Linked DNA regions of Homo sapiens: region 2 is linked to region 1. The links are contacts of gene promoters, found by promoter capture Hi-C in blood cells and fetal thymus (Javierre and others, 2016). All regions are on one chromosome and are shown on one strand. The core of a region is centred on a gene start or on the middle of the fragment in contact, and the rest is flanking DNA. Distances in the headings are between cores, read along the strand shown. Region 1 holds the start of EDEM1 (ER degradation enhancing alpha-mannosidase like protein 1). Region 2 has its middle 340 kb from the start of GRM7-AS1.

Region 1 (4,466 bases), core at 863-3,362:
TCTGAACCTAGACCCTAATGCCTAGGCTATGCCTTGCAGGGCACTAATGTCAAAACTATTGCTTTTGGGTGGCTTGGAAAGAGCAGAGGGACCTGTCTGCTCAAGGGCCAGCTATTTGAAGTGCAAATTGCCCTAAAGTGTAGTAACTCCCTTTCTGCCTAGAGCCAACAGGCTCTGAGAATTGAGCCCCCAACCTGATTTCTTCCATTATGGCTTGTGGAATAAGCTTTACAGTTTTCTATGAAGATTAAATAAGCACACATGTCAAAGTGTTTTGAAAACCATCAGTTTTACTATGAAAAGCATCTTTCAGGAGTTGGATGGTTTTCTCTGGTTATTAAAAGATTTATTTTTATAAGAGTTTTTCTCTAACATCAAGACAGAAGCTGTCCTCAATGTGGCCTGCAGTTAACCAGGTCAAATTTAAGTTAAAATTTGCAATAAAGTAGCCCCGGAAGGAAACATGCAACATGCAACTGAATATTCACATTCAGTTTGCAAGTTCCAGGAAGGCAGAAGTTCAGGATCAAGGGCTGGAGCTGGGCTGCCAGCACAGTCCCTAGGCATCCTTCACAGAGGGGAAAAAGCAGAAGCTGTGTAGTCTAAAGACCCTGGCTCAAGCTGTCTTCGTAATCTTTTTGCTGCTTGGGCTGCTCTCGATGTCTCAATGTTGGGAAAGAACAAGGCTCAGCCAACAGTAAGGACCTTCCTATGTGCCAGCTACCATGTGCTGTAATCAAGTGTTTTCTTAGTTCCCCTTACACCTCCTCTGTATTTCAGAAAGTCCTCTACCCTGAAAATGTGATGAGAGTGCCACATGACAACTTACCTTCTTATGCACTCCATTGGTCGGCCATTCAGCCAATATCAGATTTGGGGGTCTAGTCAGGTCTTGCTTCCCAAGCTTTTCAGAAACCCTGATGAAACAGGCATAGGGTCTAAACTTAGGGAGGGCAAAACTTACAGCCAACTCCAAATGCAGCAAGCAAAATAAATAAGCGCCTAAACCATTGAATCTTTATGTGAAAGCCATAGCCCTTTAGAGCTAACATTTGCAATCTTCTTAATTATAGGAAGTAGATACAGAGGGGTAAAGTTATTTAACTGGGAATCTACCCCACACCTCAAAGGTTAGGTCACTAATTGCGGGTGCACAGGAGAGATGGTAGGATGGGAGGGACAGGAGAAGACATGTTTAGATATATCTGGTAAATAATTTGGTGGTGGTGGGAGCCTTCATTCCCACCCCCAACCCGCCCCCCCCTTTTAAAAAAATCCTATTTCCGAGACAAAAGCAATATAACATAACTTTGTATTTCCTGAAACTTCCAGTTTCTAAGAACTGTCCAAGAGTACTTACACGCACATTCCCGAGACCGTTGGAGTTGTTCGATAGGTCTAGGGAGGGATCTGGGGATACGTGTTTTACAAGCACCATGAGCGATTCTTCAAAGTTGGGTGTTTGAATCAAAAGAGCAGAATTCATGATACCGTTTTGTGCACTCCTTGAGCTAAAAGGTAGTATCCCACCCTCTCCATAAACAGACACCTAAGTTATAAAACTTATGCGCTCGATATGCAAAAATAGCTCGTTTTATACAGAAACGATCCTTTCCTTCTTTTCCTTATATATCTTTTAACTGTCATCACTCCTAACCTAGACCTAGAGTGGCTTTTTCCGGTCCTAGCTCTGCCGGACACACGCTCTGCCCAGAGACCCGATCCACCCAAGGCCAGGCGGTCTGGGGTCACGTCTGTGTCCAGCGTCCGGCGGGCGCTGCCGTGCCGCTCTCCCATTGGCTGGAAGTTCCCTCGCGGGCCGGCGCGGCTCCTGCTCGCCACGCCAGCCCATCGGGCTACGGACCGCCCAGGGGGGCGGGGCTTGGGAGTTGGGGCGGGGCCCGGGTGAGGGGCGGGGCCTCGGGGCGTCGCGGACGTCCTGGCGGCCTACTGCGTGGGAGGGAGTCCTGGGCCGCGCCCCGCGAGGCCGGGCCCAGGCCGGGCCAATCCCGGGCCACTGGGCGGGCGACCGTGGGGCCTGGCCGGCCCGCCGGAGAGCCTGGGGGTTGGGGACGATGGGCTAGTTCCTGGTGCGTCACGGGGGAGTTCCTTAAAGGGGAAGCGAGCCGGGCTACGGGGCGAGCGCGGGGTGCGGTGGTCGGCGGGGAGGCCCCCGCGCTTTAAAATAATGCCCGCGGCGCCCGCGCGACCATGCAATGGCGAGCGCTCGTCCTGGGGCTGGTGCTCCTCCGGCTTGGCCTCCATGGAGTATTGTGGCTCGTCTTCGGGCTGGGGCCCAGCATGGGCTTCTACCAGCGCTTTCCGCTCAGCTTCGGCTTCCAGCGTCTGAGGAGCCCCGACGGCCCCGCGTCGCCCACCTCGGGGCCCGTGGGCCGGCCTGGGGGGGTATCCGGGCCGTCGTGGCTGCAGCCGCCGGGGACCGGGGCAGCGCAGAGCCCGCGCAAGGCTCCGCGGCGTCCTGGGCCGGGGATGTGCGGCCCAGCCAACTGGGGCTACGTGCTGGGCGGCCGGGGCCGCGGCCCGGACGAGTACGAGAAGCGCTACAGCGGCGCCTTCCCTCCGCAGCTGCGTGCCCAGATGCGCGACCTGGCACGGGGCATGTTCGTCTTTGGCTACGACAACTACATGGCTCACGCCTTCCCCCAGGACGAGCTCAACCCCATCCACTGCCGCGGCCGTGGGCCCGACCGCGGGGACCCGTGAGTAGCCCCCGCCGCCCGGGGCCGCGCGCCCACGCGCTTCCTTCCGCCCTCCGCGCCGGGGTGCAGCCCTCTGTCCTCCGGGGCCCCCGAGGGCGCCAGGGCCGTTAGGGTCCCGGGCAGCGCTCCCGCGCCCTGTCCCGTGTGAGTCCCTGTGAAGACCCCCGAGCTTGAGGGTGCGGGGTGGGCCGGTGGCCTTCCTCTCCTGATTCTCCCGGAATCTCCAAACTTCAGAACTGCTGTCCAGCTCAGTGTCTTACGCGTGAGGATACTGAGGTCCAGGACCAGAAGGGACAGTGGCAGTGCCAAGGGCTGGCTTGGAGGGCTTTCCACTTCCATCCGACCCCTTCCTCCGGATGAGCATAAACTCTAAATGAAATCTCCATCATGCCCCCCGTGTAAACGCAGCCTCAGAACAAGCCTTTACCTCGCACCCCCACCTCTATCACATTGCCACACCCACGTCTTTTCTATGTAAAAAGCCTATAGTTGACTTCTCCAAAGCCGTCCATTGAGTTTGAGGCAGAACGGGGTTACAGCCTCTCCTTCACAGGGGCTGCTTCTTAGGCTGAGGATAGTTAGGTGGTGGGGAGGGAAGCTATGTGGCCCACTTTTGGGGTCCAGATACTTGAGGTGAAATTCACTGGATGCCAGATTGACTGTCAACGTCATCGCCCTGTACGATCTGTCTATAAATCCCCCGCCTCTGGTGGCGTGGTTGTCCGGGAAGGTCAGGCAGTCTTCCCTGTTCACCAGCCTTGTTTGCAAAGGCTGAGCTCCAAGGGTCACCACTGTTGACATCAAAGTCCAAGAGGGCAGTACACCCAGCTAAGGACCTCTTACCTGTAGGGAAGGAATGTGCATTGCCATAGACCCTGTTAGTCCAAATAGTTGACTCCCCTCCCCTGGATGGGAGTGGAGGAGTTGGTTTGCTCAGTGTCTTGGCACCGTCTGGGGCAAGCATTTTCCTTCACCTGGAGGAAAGCAGTGGAGTCCAGTCCTTAGGTTCTGATAAGGAAGCCTATAGACTAAACGGAGTTGGGTTTTTAAAATGGTGTGGTTATTTACACATTTATGTTTTAAATTGCAGTTTGAGAGCATGATTTCTACCGAAGCAAGGGGACATCCCAAGCTAAATTCAAAGGACTGAGCCTTTTCAAAATTCTAGGAAACCGATGAGTTTTTCTTGCTTAACCATAGCGTTTATACGTATAAGTGTATTTTCTATCTCAATTTTTTTGAGAAAAAATATTAAATTTTGAAAAAAAAGTATTTGGCCTTTCCAGATTTTTTGTTTGTTTTTTGAGACGGAGTCTCGCTTTGTCGCCCAGGCTGGAGTGCAGTGGCGCGATCTCCGCTCACTGCAACCTCCGCCTCTGTGGTTAAAGTGATTCTCCTGCCTCAGCCTCCCGAGTAGCTGGGACTACAGACTCGTGCCACCACGCCCGGCTAATTTTTTGTATTTTTAGTAGAGACGGGGTTTCACCGTATTAGCCAGGATGGTCTCATCTCCTGACCTCGTGATCCACCCGCCTGGGCCTCCCAAAGTGCTGGGATTACAGGCGTGAGCCACCGCTCCCGGCCATGGTCTTTCCAGATTTTAAGAAATGAATGAATTATTTGGCTCACTTAACTAGAGGGGACTTTATACCTATAAATGTATTTTCTTTCTTAGTTTTTTTTTTGGGGGGGGGGATAAACTTCATTTAATTGTGGTCTTTTTTTTGTTGTCAGCCTACATCATGC
Region 2 (4,466 bases), core at 496-2,995, 2.7 Mb after region 1:
TACACTCTTCAAAAAGTTTCAAGGAAAGACTAGGAACTATTCCAAATTGAAAGAGCCTAAAATAATATGAAACTGTGGGCCAAATGTGACTCTTATTTATTCCTTTGGCTATAAAAGACATTGCTGGGATATTTGGCAAAACTTGAATGGCTGTTAGTAATGTAGTAATGTTAATTTCTTGATTTTGATGGTAATTCTATGATTATTCTATAAACAAAGAGAATGTTCATGGAGAATATAGGCTGAAATATTCAACATATTCCAGGAAACATCACATGTAGCTTATTCTCAGATGGTTCAAAAAATGTGGTTTTCTTTTCATTTTTCTCTTAAATTGCACTTATTTCAAAAAATAAAGATTCATAAATCCTATCACTTTTGTAGAAATAAATCACATGGAACTTGAAAGAAAACAATGTTTAAGCAGTAAATTTGTGATATGTGGGTATTTAAGAACAGGGTACTTGTTATGAAGATGCATGGGGTGGTGGGTGAACAAATGACAAAAAATAGATTGTTTAAGAAGTCTGTATTAGTCTGTTTTCACACTGCTATAAGTGACCTGAGACTGGGTCATTTATAAAGAAAAGAGATTTAATTGACTCACAGTTCCGCTTGGCTAGAGGGACTTCCTGAAACTTACAATCATGGCAGAAGGCAAAGGAGAAGCAAGCATCTTCTTACATGGTGGCAGGAGAGAGAGAAAGCAAGCGGGGAAGTGCCACACTTTGAAACTATCAGATCTCATGAGAAGTCATTCACTGTCATGATAACAGCACGAGGCAAATCCACCCCCATCATCTAATCACCTCCCACCAGGTCCCTCCCTCAACATGTGGGGGATTACAATTTGAGATGAGATTTGGGTGGAAACATAGAACCAAACCACATCAAAGTCTCTTCACAAAATAGCAACAGGAAATTGTGTGGAGCCTGGGTATAGGGAGGAAGTTATTGAATCATGCCTTTCATCCTGTTTTAAGCTGATAGAGGGAGATGTCATTTAATTGCCTTGGGTTTATTTACACAAGAAAATGAAAGTGCCAATAGTAACCTGTGAAAAATGCCAGAACTCAGGGTTGGTTATATATGACTAGTTGAGGGGTTTTCTAATCACAAATGTCTAAGTCTAATGCTCAAACACAGCAAGATAATTTATCAGTTATTCAGAAAGAGTATGGAAAAATAGTGGTGAAATAGACAAACAGCCCATTTTTATTTTTACATCTAATTGTTCTCCCTTCATGGAGTTTACCTTAAAATAATTTGTTAATAATGCTGAGAGCTGTTATTTCTATCTGTAAACAGCTTACTAGGGATAGGTCATTTCTATGAAGTTTGGAAAGGAAGGGCTGGGCATAGTGACTCATACCTGCAGTCCCGGTACTTTGGGAGGCCGAGGTCGGGAGATCTCTTGAGCTCAGAAGTTCAAGACCATCCTGGGAAACATGGCAAAACCCCGTCTCTACTAAAACTACAAAAATTAGCTGGGTGTGGTGGTGCACACCTGTATTCCCAGCTACTCAAGAACACTGAGGTGGGAGAATCGTTTGAACCCAGGAGGTAGAGGCTGCAGTGAGCTGAGATTGTACCACTGCACCCCAGCCTGGGTGACAGTCTGACTTCATCTCATAAAAGAAAAAAAAATTAAAAAAAAAGAAAGAAAGAAAAAATTGGGAAGGAGAAAGATGAGGTGGGGGTTAGGCCAAGGTGGTGAACTAGAAGCAGTTATGTATGCCACTCTCACAGAGAAGAAACAAGAGGGCTGGCGAACATTGGCCCTGCAAGGCCAGTCATCTGAGAAACTACATCGGGTTCCATCAAGGCAGCAGGGGAACAGAGAGAGCAGAGAGGAGTGAGGCTGGAAACCAGCTTGTATTAGTTTAGTGCAGAGCTGGGAGTACCTCTCAAAAGCAGGAAAGGGTGAGTGAATGAACTCTCCACAGGGACCTGTCTGGGAACCTCTCCTGGGAATGAGAGATTCCCCCTATCCCTCCTGCAGCCTTCCTTCTAGACTGGGGTAGAGAGCCATCTGGACATTCTGTGAGGGCAACTCTTAAGTTCAAGGAAATCTCTACAAGCCTTGGGCCCCAGAGTAGACCAGCACTGGCAACACAGCCTCACTAGAGTCTGTAATCATAGTGCCTGGGAACAACAGGATTGCTCCACCCCATTCCCTTACCAGAAAAGATTGGTGCCAGCTTCCAGCCCAGCTGTCCTACTTTGGCCTGAACTCAGCTGGCAGCCACAGGCTCCTGTTGTCCCAGGAAGTTCCTGGGTGGCAAGGTAGGAGACCCCTACACACTGGTAGCCAGGCAGGCAAAACTTGCCAGAACTTCTAGCCTAATGGTACCGCTGCTGTGTGGATTCTGCCAGATGATACATTTATCCGGTGGCTCTGAGAAATGCTCAGATAGCAGGGTGGGTGAGGCCACCTACCCCTGCCACTGGTAGCCAAGCAGACAATGTCTGCTAGAGCTCCCAGCCTAGTGGTCCCAATTTTATGTGAACTCAACAGGTGGGTGCAGCCTCCTGTGTCCCAAGAAGCAACTGGACAGCAGGGAGGGCAACCCCCAACCACATCTGCCGCTGATAGCCAGGCAAACTACAACTGCTAGAGCTTCCATAATTCTACTTCTGCCTGAACTCTGGGCAGGCACAACCCTGTATTCCCCGGAAAGCACTTGGACAACAGATTAGCACTGACCTGGCAAGGATATAGCCCATCTACCAACTGTGGCCCCTAACCTGAGGGAGCCCTGTGGACCAGAACAACCCCCCTCCCACCAAAACAAACAAATAAACAAACAAAAAAACAGAAAACAGTGGCCTGGAGATAGGAATCAGAGGACTCCTCCAAGACCCAGGAACAGACTAGAATTGAAGCCAGTTGACTGAACTCACCTTATATCATAATCAAACCCCCAAGGGCACGAAAGAAGATAAAAGCAAGATCCATTCATAGGAAAGCAATTTCAAAGACTGAAGGAACATCAGCCCTACACAGATAAGAGTAAACCAGCACAAGAGCTCTGGCAACTCAAAAAGCCAGAGTGTCTTCTGACCTCCAAATTATTGTACTACTTCACCAAAAATGGTTCTTACTCAGACTGAAATGGCTGAAATGTCAGAAATAGAATTCAGAATATGAATAGGAATAAAGATCGACATTCTGGAGAAAATCAAAACCCAATGCAAGGAATCTAAGGAATACCATAAAACAATGCAAAAGATAAAAGATGAAATAGTCATTTTAAGAACAAAAAGAAACTGATCTGACAGAGCTGAAAAACTCACTTAAGAATTGCATAATACAACTGCAGTATTAACAACAGAACCACCAATCTGAGGAAAGAATCTTAGAGCTTAAAGATTGGTTCTCTGAAATGACTCAGACAAAAATAAAAAATAAGGAATGAATAAATCCACCAAGAAATATGAGATTAGGTGAAGAGACCAAATCTATGACACACTGGCATCCCTGAAAGAGAGAGAGAGAAAGCAAACAACTTGCAAAACATATTTGAGGATATCATCTCCCAAAATTTCCCCAACCTTGCTAGAGAAGCCAACACTCAAATCTAGAAAATGCAAAGAATCCCTGTGTGGTACTATATAAGGTAACCATCCCCAAGACATACAGTCATCAGATTCTCTAAGTCGAAATGAAAGAAAAAATGTTAAAGGCAGCTAGAGACAAAGGGCATGTCATCTACAAAAGAAACCTCATGAGGCTAACAGTGGACCTTTCAGCAAAAACCCTATAAGCCAGAAGAGATTGGGGCCTATATTCAGCATTATTAAAGAAAAGAAATTCCAACCAAGCATTTCATATTCAGCCAAACTAAGCTTCAAAAACAAAGAAACATGATCCTTTTCAGCCAAGTATACAGAATTTATTACCACTAGACTGTCCTTACAAGAGGTCCTAAAGGGAGTGCTAAATATGGAAAGGAAAGATGATTATCAGCCACCACAAAAACACACTTAAGTACATAGACCATTGATACTATAAAGTAACCACACAATCAATTCTGCAGAATAACCAGCTAACAACACAATGACAGATTCACACCTACACAATATTAACTTTGAATGTAAATGGGTTAAATGTCCTAATTAAAAGTCACATAATGGAAAGTTGGATAAAGAAGCAAGACACAACCATGTGCGGTCTACAAGAAACCCATCTCACTTGCAATGACAGCCATAGGCTCAAACTAAAGGGATGGAGAAAAATCTACCAAGCCAATGAAAACCAGAAAAAAACAGAGGTTTCTAATTTCAGACAGGACAGATTTTAAACCAATAACAAACAATAAAAGCAAAGAAGGGCATTACATAATGGTAAAGGGTTCCATTCAACAAGAAGATCTAACTGTCCTAAATATATATGCACCAACACAGGAGCATCCAGATTCATAAAGTTCTTAGAGGCCCACAAAGAGACTTAGGTAATCAATCAA

What was found. The method cuts DNA at HindIII sites, captures the fragments that hold promoters and counts their contacts. A CHiCAGO score of 5 or more calls a contact.
Region 2: a contact is called between a fragment that was not itself captured here and the fragment with the promoter of EDEM1 in region 1, in 1 of 17 cell types (non-activated CD4 T cells). The highest score is 5.4, in non-activated CD4 T cells.

The regions. Positions count from the first base shown.
Region 1 is chr3:5,185,595-5,190,060 of GRCh38, forward strand. EDEM1 (ER degradation enhancing alpha-mannosidase like protein 1) reads left to right here and starts at 2,113. Exons shown (of 12, transcript NM_014674.3): 1 at 2,113-2,720. The coding sequence starts at 2,212. RefSeq lists enhancers at 571-630, 3,052-3,101 and silencers at 1,742-2,151, 2,392-2,561, 2,612-2,901, 4,099-4,218. The HindIII fragment of the contact is 7,598 bases long and covers 903-4,466 here.
Region 2 is chr3:7,876,151-7,880,616 of GRCh38, forward strand. No RefSeq gene overlaps it. Among named protein-coding and RNA genes, the nearest start is that of GRM7-AS1, 340 kb to the left of the region's middle. The HindIII fragment of the contact is 4,204 bases long and covers 1-3,847 here.